2 separate regions of the Homo sapiens genome follow, and region 1 is linked to region 2. Evidence: promoter capture Hi-C in human tissues and cell types (Jung and others, 2019). All regions are on one chromosome and are shown on one strand. The core of a region is centred on a gene start or on the middle of the fragment in contact, and the rest is flanking DNA. Distances in the headings are between cores, read along the strand shown.

Evidence for each region. The method cuts DNA at HindIII sites, captures the fragments that hold promoters and counts their contacts. A contact is called where the count stands out against the background at its distance.
Region 1: a fragment that was not itself captured here is called in contact with the fragment with the promoter of PRX in region 2 in 3 of the 25 tissues and cell types used here (IMR-90 fibroblasts, hippocampus and liver).

The regions. Positions count from the first base shown.
Region 1 is chr19:40,638,098-40,643,526 of GRCh38, forward strand. No RefSeq gene overlaps it. Among named protein-coding and RNA genes, the nearest start is that of LTBP4, 39 kb to the left of the region's middle. The HindIII fragment of the contact is 3,860 bases long and covers 1-3,801 here.
Region 2 is chr19:40,410,897-40,416,112 of GRCh38, forward strand. PRX (periaxin) reads right to left here and starts at 2,482. Exons shown (of 7, transcript NM_181882.3): 1 at 2,442-2,482. RefSeq lists an enhancer at 3,292-3,940. The HindIII fragment of the contact is 14,641 bases long and covers 1-5,216 here.

The DNA of each region.
Region 1 (5,429 bases), core at 622-3,121, 230 kb after region 2:
GAGTAGCTGGGACTACAGGTGTGCGCCACCACACCTGGCTAATTTTTGTATTTTTAGTAGAGACGGGGTTTCACCATATTGGCCAGGCTGATCTCGAACTCCTGACCTCATGATCTGCCCTCCTCGGCCTCCCAAAGTGCTGAGATAACAGGCGTGAGCCACTGCGCCTAGCCTAGACTTGATTTTTTAAATTTCTGTCCTCCAATAGAAATAGACCTGATTTTTAAAAATGTGCATGGCCAGGCACAGTAATTCATGCCTATAATCCTAGGACTTTGGGAGGCCAATGTGGGAGGATCACTTGAGCCCAGGAGTTGGAGATCAACCTGGACAACATAGCTAGACCCTGTCTCTACAAAAATAAAAATATTAGGTGGGTGTGGTCTTGTACACCTGTAGTGCCAGCTACACAGGGGGTTGAGGAGGGAGGATCCATTGAGACCAGGAGTTCCAGCCTGCAACGAGCTAGGATCTCACCACTGCACTGCAGGCTGGGCAACAGAGCAAGACCCTGCCTCAAAAAAAAAAAAAAAAAAAAAAGCATGTTAAAATTTCAAAGATTGCTACAAAAAGAAAGAAATGGTGCATAGATTCCAAACTAGTAGAGGGAAAACAAAGAATAAGAAAACATAAGACAAAACTAAACAAAAAATGCAGCCAATTCAAAGAAGCTTAAATGAGCATGAAAAAATAAATAAACGTAGAAAAATGAGGACACTAGAATCACAAAGCAAAATGGTAGAAGTAAATAAAATACATCATTAATCACATACACAAAAAATGTATTCAGGGCCAGGTATGGTGGCTCACACCTGTAATCCCAGCACTTTGTGAGGCTGGGGCAGACGGATCACTTGAGGCAACAAGTTTGAGACTAGCCTGGCCAACATGGTGAAACCCCATCTCTACCAAAAATACAAAAAAAAAAAAAAAAAAAAAGAAGAAGAAGTTATCCAGGCATTGTGGTGCACGCCTGTAATCCCAGCTACTTGGGAGGCTGAGGTAGGAGAATTGCTTGAATCCAGGAAGTGGAGGTTGCAGTGAGCTCAGATTGCACCACTGCACTCCAGCCTGGGTGACAGAGTGAGACTCCCTCTCAAAAACAAACAAAGAAAAAATGTATTCAGAGGCCAAATACTTCTTACCACCTCCATAGCTGCCACCCATATCTTACCCTCCTCCTAGGGTTTGGAGTTCCTACTCCTGGCCCCACAATCTCTCCCCGTCATGCAGATAGAGGGACTCTGGGAATAACCAAGTCAACTCAACTCCCTCTGCTGCTCAAAACTTTCCTGTGGCTCCATCTCACTCAAAGATTATTTTGCTCATTTTTTTTTTGTTTTTTTTTGAGACAGGGTCTCACTCTGTTGCCCAGGCTGGAGTGCAGTGGTGCAAGTCATGACTCACTGCAGCCTAGACTTCCTCGGCTCAAGCCATCCTCCAGGCCTCCAGGGCTACCACAACCCAGCCAATTTTTTGATAGAGACGAGGCCTCCCTTATTGCCCAAGCTGGTCTTGAACTTATGGGCTCAACTTATCTACCCACCTCGGCCTCCCAAAATGCTGGGATTCCAGGCCTGAGCCACTGTGTTCCGCCAATCTCATTCAAAGTAAGAGCCAAAGTCCTCACTGTGGTCCAGCAGACTCTGCACCGTCTGCTTCTTGTTCCCTCTCTGACCTCACCTCCCCTCCACCCCCCACACGCTCCTCTGCAGCAACACGGATCTCCTTGTTGTTTCTCTAAGATCCAGACATGTTCCCATCCCACCCCAGGACCTTGGCACTGGCTGTTCCCTCTGCCTAGGGGACTCTTTCCACTAGGTTCAGTTTCTCTTTTTTTTTTTTTTTGAGACGGAGTTTTTTCACTCTTGTTGCCCAGACTGGAGTGCAGTGGCACGATCTCGGCTCACAGCAAGCTCCTCCTCTCAGGTTCAGGCAATTCTCCTGCCTCAGCCTCCCGAGTAGCTGGGACTACAGGCACCCGCCACCACCCCCAGCTAATTTTTGTATTATTAGTAGAGACGGGGTTTCACCATGTGGCCAGGCTGGTCTCGAACTGCTGATCTCAAGTGATCCATCTACCTCAGTCTCCCAAAGTGCTGGGATTACAGGTGTGAGCCACCGCGCCTGGCCCCCTTGGCTCAGTCCCTCACCACCAGCAGAAGAATGGATAAACTGATCCCACAGTGGCCTGCAATGTGTGTGTGCTGCAATGAGAATAACCTGTAACTGCACACGACAACCAGGATGAATTTTTTTCACGGTGCTGACTGAAAAAAGCCAGATGCTAAAAAGAACATATTTTCAGATTGCATTTACATGAATTCAAAACAGGCACAACCAATCTATGCTGTCAGAAGTGAGGGTGATAATGACCTTGGAGGGAGGGCAGGTGATAAGGGAGCGCCGAGGGGGCTTCTGGGGGGCTGGAGATATTGCTTCTTGGGCTGGTGGCTGGTGACACAGGTGTGTTCAATCGGTGATAATTCCTCCAGCGGTTACACTTACGGTTTGTACTTTCCTGAATATGGGTCTACTTCAAGAAACCACTGCTGAAAACGAGGAGCTGCACCCACCACCCAGTGTCCCCTCCATCCAGTTTAAGCAACAGGACATTCTCAGCCCCCCGGGGTCCCTCCCTCCCAATGCAATGTGCTTTTATGTCTTCAAGGGGCCTGGCCACCACCTTGGTTGCTTCCCCCAGCTTGCTATGCATGTCACCCCACGCATGTTCCAGGCAGCTCCACAGAGGTCCCCAGAGAGAAGGCAGGCTGTGGGTGGGAGGAAGGGCAGGGGTGGGGGACGTGGCTTCCCAGCGGAGCCCGGGCAGGGGGAGGAAACATTTCTGCAACACCCCACACCAAGTCCTGACTTCGGGGGGGCTTTGCAGGGTGAATTCTAAGTGCCCAGGGCCCCATGTGAAGGGGTCAACTGTGTCTCACTCTGTGTCTGTCTCTCTGTCTGTCTCTCTTCCTGTTTCCTCCCTCCCTCCCAGTCTCTCTCTCCTCAAGAAGAAAAAAACTCACAACTATTTACATAACAATTTTATATCAGACTGTAACCCAAAAACCCAAGTTCCAACTTCGAATTTTTCAATAAACTTTGAATAAATAGTAGTGCTATTTTTCTTTCTTTTTTTTTTTAGTACTGTAATGTTTACTTTTAAATTTAATTTTTACTGGCAGACTTTACGTATATGAGGTTCAAGAAAAGAAAATCTCCACTGTTTACATTTCTTTTCTGACTATTAATATTGTTCATTTCATTTCCTGATTATTACTGGCAATAATTTTGTCCTATGGGGAAGGGAGGCGCTTGGCAGGCCTCGAGTTATCCTTTGAGACATGGGGGTCTGTGGTCAGATTTAGAAAGTGCTTGTGGGTGGCTGGGTGGGAGTGGGTCATGGGAGACATAAGGGCAGGCTGGAGTCCAGGGAGGAGGCCGGCCGGGCAGGGACCCAGGCAGCGGAGATGGACAGGGCCATGGAGAATCTGGGAGGCGCAGGCCCTGGGGACTGTGGATTGGGGAAGGAGATAATTTTATTTTATTATATTTTTTTGAGACAGAGTTTCAGTCTGTCTCCAAGACTGTAGTGCAATGGCACGATCTCTGCTCACTGCAACCTCTGCCTCCCGAGTTCAAGGGATTTTCCTGCCTCAGCCTCCCAAGTAGCTGGGATTACAGGCACGCACCCTCACACCCAGCTAATTTTTAATATTTTTGGTAGAGACGGGGTTTCACCATATTGGCCAGGCTGGTCTCATACTCCTGACCTCAAGCGATCCACCTGCCCCGGCCTCCCAAAGTGCTGGGATTACAGGCATGAGCCACGACGTCTGGCCTAATTTTTTGTATTTTTAGGAGAGACAGGGTTTTGCCATGTTGGCCAGGCTAGTCTTGAACTCCTGGCCTCAAGTGATCCGCACACCTCAACCTCCCAAAGTGCTGGGATTACAGGTGTGAGCCACTACGCCCCGCCAAGGGAAGGGGAGAATTTGAGTGCTATTGAAGGTAGAAAACACAGAACATAGGCTGGGTGTGGTGGCTCATATCTCTAATCCCAGCACTTTGGGAGGCCAAAGTGGGAGGCTGGCTTAATCCCAGGAGTTCGAGATCAGCCTGGGCAACATAGTGAGACCCCTGTCTCTACAAAAAATTAAAAATTAGCCAGGCATGGTGGCACCCACCTGTACTCCCAAGGCTACTTAGGAGGCTGAGGTGGGAGGATCGCTGGATCCCAGGAGATCTGAGGTGAGCCGTGATCATGCCACTGCACTCCAGCCTGGGCAGCAGAGTAAGACCCTGTCTCCAAAAATAAAAAATAATTTAAAATAAAGCGCGGAACACTGTCAGGTTGTCTGTGGGGGAGCAGCGGGCAGGCGACCAGGAGGGCTGGCTGCTCTGTGCAGGGCTAGTGCCTGGGTTGGGATGACTCGGCCTCAGAGCTGTAAATAAAGAAGGAAGAGGGCCGGGCGCGGTGGTTCACGCCTGTAATCCCAGCACTTTGGGAGGGCGAGGTGGACTAATCACCTGAGGTCGGGAGTTCGAGACAAGTCTGACCAACATAGAGAAATCCCATCTCTGCTAAAAATACAAAATTAGCCGGGTGTGGTGGCACATGCCTGTAATCCCAGCTACTCGGGAGGCTGAGGCAGGAGAATCGCTTGAACCCGGGAGGCAGAGATCACAGTAAGCCGAGATCACAACACTGCACTCTAGCCTGGGCAGCAAGAACAAAACTCCATCTCGAAAAAAAAAAAAAAAAAGTAGAAGAAAGAAAGAGCTGCCACAGTTGAGAGCTTCCTGGATGCCTTTGTTAACTCTTGGGGTTTTCACATACCCATCTTACAGATGGGGAAGCTGAGGCTCAGAGAGAGGAAGGCCCAAGTGGAAGAGCAAGCCTGGAGCCCAGGTCTCCTCCTGCCTAATCCTGGGCTTTTGCTGGTGGACTCCCGCCCAATCTTGAATAACTTCAGGCCTTAAACAACCTCCCACGATTGCTTTTCCTCCCATTAGAACAATAAATGCAGATACAAAAACCAACTATGCTTGTCTACAAAGCCCAAGAGAATTTTTGAAGTAATAAAACTGTCATGAATGCAGACTGTGGTGATTACATGACTTACGAATTTTTCAAAACTCAGAATCGAGCCAGATGAAATGATCCTGCCTGCAATCCCAGCACTTTGGGAGGCTATGGCAGGAGGATCATTTGAGGCCAGGAGTTCAAGACCAGCCTGGCCAACATGGTGAAACCCCGTCTCTACTAAAAATACAAAAATTAGCTGGGTGTGGAGGCACATGCCTGTAATCCCAGCTATTTCAGCAGCTAAGGCAAGAAAATTGTTTGAACCCGGAGGCTGAGGTTGCAGTGAGAAATGATCGTGCCACTGCACTGTAGACCCTGTCTCAAAAACCAAAACCAAAAC
Region 2 (5,216 bases), core at 1,232-3,731:
AGCTCCAGCGCTTTAGCTGGACAATCATAATAACAACTGATGGGTATTGAGTGGTTAGTATTAATATTAGCTGGTCCCTGCACTAAGACCTTGTCTGCCATGTCTGGGGCATTTCCTCTGAATTGGGCCCTGTGCTAGCACCCACAGGCCTCAAAATCACCCTAGATGTTGTGGCTGTTATGGGGTGGAAACTGAGGCTCACAGAGGGGTCACCCAGCCAGAAAGGGGCAGAGCTAGGACCCGTGCCTGCCCTTCACCCCTGCTTCACCTTAATTTGCATTGGTGGCTCTGCGCACTGGGGCAGGAGCTGGGTTGGGCAGGAGGGGGCCAACGGTGCTAGAAACACACCCAGGCCAGGTGCCGGGCCTGGACCGGGCAGGCGCTTTACATACTTGACCTTGTGGGACCCCATTTAACTGATGAGTCAATGAGAGTTAAGAGACCGGTGATCACAGTGACAGAGTCGAGACTTGAGCCCAGGTGTGAAAGCGAACTCAGTTCCCTTACCCAGGACTGATACACAGCACAGAGTCCTGAGCTGGGGACACGAGAAGCCTGAACCTTGTAGGTGGTAGTAGAGGGGGTCTCCTGGGTCATCAGCTCTCTGTCCCAGGCCCGTGGCTGTGAGGGTCATGCCCGGAGCCTGGCACAGGAAGTTCAGGCGGGGCAGGGACAAGAGAGAGTGCCCTCCTTCTTCGTCCCTGCCTGGACAGGCACCCAGCCCAGGTTATATTTAGCCCAACTGTGCTCTTCCTGAGCCACGTACCCAGCCCCTGGGGTAAGGTGGGGGCAGCTTCGGAAGGAAACCCACAGAGAGGACTCTGTGTTCCCAGCTCTGCCTATCCCACTAGGCAGGGGAAAGAGGGGTGGGGAGGCTCCTGGGGAGGGTCCCTGCCTTGTGTTAGAGGCAGATCCACTGGGACCAGGCAGACACTCCAGATGCCAGCAGCCTATTTCTTGGGTAGTTACTGTGGCATGACCCTGGCATATGCCAGAACTTTCAGAATCCCCAGGGTCCCCATTTCTTGAGCACCTACTGTGTGCTAAGATCCTTCCTGTCTTGGCTCCTTAAATCTTTGTAACATCTCCCTGGAGTGGGTACAACTGAGATATCCATTTCAGATGCGACTTATGCCCTTCAGAGCAGCTGGGAGCGAGGGGTTGTCATTCGGAGGCTGCTGAGGGATCGGCTGAGGGCATTGCCCTTCTGGCCCTCTTTCCCTGGTGACTGCCACCAACTTCACTTGGGAACCCTGCCTGCTCAGAGCCTCAGCTTTCCCCCGCCACCAGCGTGATCTCTCATAGCAATGGGGGTCAGGGGTTGGGCTGACTCATCCAGACCTCTAAACATTATCTGAGGCCACCTAGGGGGTCAGGGGGAGTTAAGGCAGTGGCCTCTGGCTGCCTCGGTTAGTCCCTGCTCCAGCACTTCCCAGGTGTGAGGACTTGGGCAAGATCCTTCATCTCTGGGGCCTCAGTTTCTCCATCTGTAAAATGGAGCCAATAAGAAAGGCTTTGAAGATTTGTGAGAGAACAGCAGGTGCTTAGAATATCCCTCCTGTATAGTAAATGCTTGATTAATATAAACTCGTCTCTGACAGCAACAGGGAGAGTATGGAGGGAGGGAGCTGTGCTTCTCACAGTGTTGCACATCCAACCTTTGCTCCTCAGTGGCCCCCACTTTCTCTGCTACCAAAGGGGAGCTTTGGCTGAGAGACAAAACCCAGCTCAGGCACCAGCCTCCCAACAGGATCCATGCTGCCTCCCTAGCACCCTACTCCAGGGACCCACCCCAGGCCTCCTGCCCCAGCTCTGGTGTTTGTTAGTTTGTTTTTTGGAGACAGGGTCTCCCTCTGTCACTGAGACTGGAGTGCAGAGGTGTGATCACGGCTCACTGCAGCCCCAACCTCCTGGGCCCAACCCAATCTCCCATCTCAGCCTCCAGAGTAGCTGGAACCACAGGCATGCACCACCATGCCCAGCTAATTAAAAAAAATTTTTTTTTGTTTTGTAGAGATGGGGGCCTCTCTATGTGGCCCAGGCTGGTCTCGAACTCCTGGGCTTAAGCAGTCCTGCCGCCTCAGCCTCCCAAAGTGCTGGGATTATAGGCATGAGCCACCATGCCTGGCTGCCCTAGCTCTTTAAAAGCAGCAACTCATTTACTCGGCACCAGCCCTGTGAGGTGGCCTCCAGACATCAGCCCATTTTAGAGATGGGGAAACAGAGGCACAAAGGATGAAGTATCTTGCCCAAGGCTGCACAGCCAGAAAGGAGAGGAAAGGGGATTTGAACCACCAGCTCCAAAGTCTATACCTTTAACACCTACACCACACGGCTTCCTGAGCCCCCAGGCCCCCTCCCAGCACCTCCCGGGACCCTGAACCTCATTCCCACAGTGTCTCAGCCTGGCCAGGGAAGGGACCGGCCGGCTGATCTCTTACCGCTGAGCCTCCAGACACCTCGAGAGCTCCTGGTCCCGTCTGTCAGCCCTAGCCCTAGGCTGGGGGGGAAAAGGAATGGGGAGGGGGGAGGAGAGAGAGACCCCAGCCATTGGCTGCGGGGGTGTGACGTCACCAGAGGGTGGGTGGTGGAGAAACAAACATCCCCCTCCTCCAGCTACATCTATCCCCAAGGGGTGGGGGCCACGGGACAGCCACCAGCCGCCTCTCTCTTGCCTGGGCCGAGATCTCTGCCATGAGCTCAGCTTCAAGGATTTGCACGTTGGCTTCCTCGACTTGGAGAATCAGGACCCCACCCCAGCCCCACTGTTTCCTGGCTCCAGGACCCGGGCCTGGCCAACTGCCTCTACTGTAAACTCCTTTCACTCCCTCTCCCTGTCAACTTGGGTTCAAATCGCAGCGCGACCACTTCCTCGCTGGGTGACCTGCTGCCAGTCACAGCTTCTCTTTGCGGATAGTAAGAGTACCCACCTTATGGGGCTGTGGTGAAGATTAAACGAGTTAAAAGAGACTGAAAATGTAAGACAATGCCGGGCACATAATGAGGGTTACTAATAAGTATTTGGTATTATTTTTCACACAAATTAGGTGGCTGGCTCATCTTGCTGGGGGGTTTTGGCCCCTTTTCAGTAAGGCTGGGCACAGGGGACCCCCAGTTCTCTGTCTAATGGAGTTACTGTTTAGGGGGACACCTATCACATACTAAGTACCATGCTCAGTGCTGAAGCCCTGCTTTTGAATCAAGGGTGTAAAATGGGCTCCTTATGCTCCCCACCCTTTTTTTTGAGACAAGGTCTCACTCTGTTGCCCAGGCTGGAGTGCAGTGGTGTGATCATGGCTCACTGCAGCCTCCACCTCCTGGGCTCAAGCAATCCTCCCGACTGAGCCCCCTCAAATAGCTGGGACCACAGGTATGCATCATCATGCCCAGCTAATTTTTGTATTTTTTGTAATGGCAAAGTTTCACCATGTTGCCCAGGCTGGTCTCGAACTCCTGGGCTCAAGCGATCTTCCCACTTCGGCCTCCCAAAGTTCTGGGATTACAGGCGTGAGCCACCGCGTCCAGCTATGCCCAATTTATAGCTATGTGGCCAGGAGGTGGTGAAGCTGAGGTCCAACCCCTGTTCTCCTGGACCACAAAAACCCTGCTACACTCTTCTGCCCCTTCCACTTTGCAGACCAGAAGGCTCAGAGAAGGTAAGTGACTCTCCCAATATCACCATAGCAGGTCATTGGCAGGGGTCCAGAGTTGAACCCAGACCTGCCCGACTCCCAAGCCAAAGCTACCAGGCCTCACCCCCAACCCCTGGACCCTGGTCCAGCCCCCAGCCTGCCCTGACTCACCAGACCCCGGGGGGCGGCACAGGGAGCACAGGTACCCCCACATGCCACTTGAACCCACCCGGCTGCTGCCTCGGAAGCTCGTCGCTCTCTGAACCCAGGCCCCAGGCCTGGGCTGGGCTGAGGCTGGGGGATTACCCCCAAAGCGCATGTCAGCAGCTTCTGCCCCATTGTCCAGCCAGGCACAGACACCAAGCCCTGGCCTCTGTCGGCACCCTCGCCCCTCACACCAGCCTGGGTGGCCCCTCTGCAGACCTGTCCCCCATCTCACACCAGAGGGTTGGGGCCTACTTCAGAGGGCGTGGGGGACCAGGCCAGGATGGCAGGATCCCGGAATGCTGGGGGCCTCCCTCCCTTCTCTCTGAAATGCCCCCTGCCCACTCTCAGCCACCGGGGAAGGCAGGAATGTGCTGAGCTCTGGGAAATGCCTTCCAGGCCTGGCAGCAACCAAGCATTGGGGTGTGGCCAGAAGCCAGCCAGAGCCCTCCTCCCAGGAGGGGTAGAAGGGATGGTATGGTCGGGGCTCCCGATGGGCCTGAGGAGACCCTCACTTCATTGCAGTCTCTCTCCTTCATTGATTCACGCAAACATTCTTTTGTTCCTATATTCATTCAACAAACACTCACAAGCCCTGTTTAGTGGTAGGTCTTTTGCTGGGCACAGGGGACATCAACAGATCTAACTCCACCCCAGGGAGGAGGCGGCAAACTCAGGAAAGGATCCTGCAGGAGGTGATATCGGCAGTCAAACTGAATTAGCCAGGCGTGGTGGCGGGCACCTGTGATCCCAGCTACTCGGGAGGCTGAGCAGGAGAATTGCTTAAACCCAGGAGGCAGAGGTTACAGTGAGGCAAGATTGCGCCATTGCACTCCAGCCTGGGTGACAGAGCGAGACTCTGTCTCAAAAAGAAAATAATAATAAATAATAAAAGGAAGTCAAAATGGAAGATTGAGGAGGAGGGAGCTAAGGAAAAAAGGAGGGAAGGGGGTTCCAGGCAGAGGGACAAATGTGGGCAAAGGACCAGAGGTGAGAAATGGAGCGGGTCTTCATTCACCATCAGCAAACATTCAGTGAGCACCTGGTCTTCTGTCCAGTCCCAGGCTGGATGGTGCTGGGGACACAGTGTGACTGGGACAGCTCAGGCCTGCATCCACACCATTCACAGTCCAGCAGGGAACAAACCCAGAAAGAGGAGGGTTGTGATGGGGCAATCATAGGCAGAGAGGTCAAAGCCTTGATGGGGAAGTCCAGAAAAGGTGGCTGCCCCAGCCTAGGAAGAGAAATCAAGGAGGGCTTCCTGGAGGAAGTGGCATTTGAGCTTGCACCTGGAGGATATATAGAAGTTAACCCAAAGCCATGGGTGGTGAAGGAATGACAGTGTGTTTCAGGTAGCGGGAACACCCTGTGCAAAGGCCC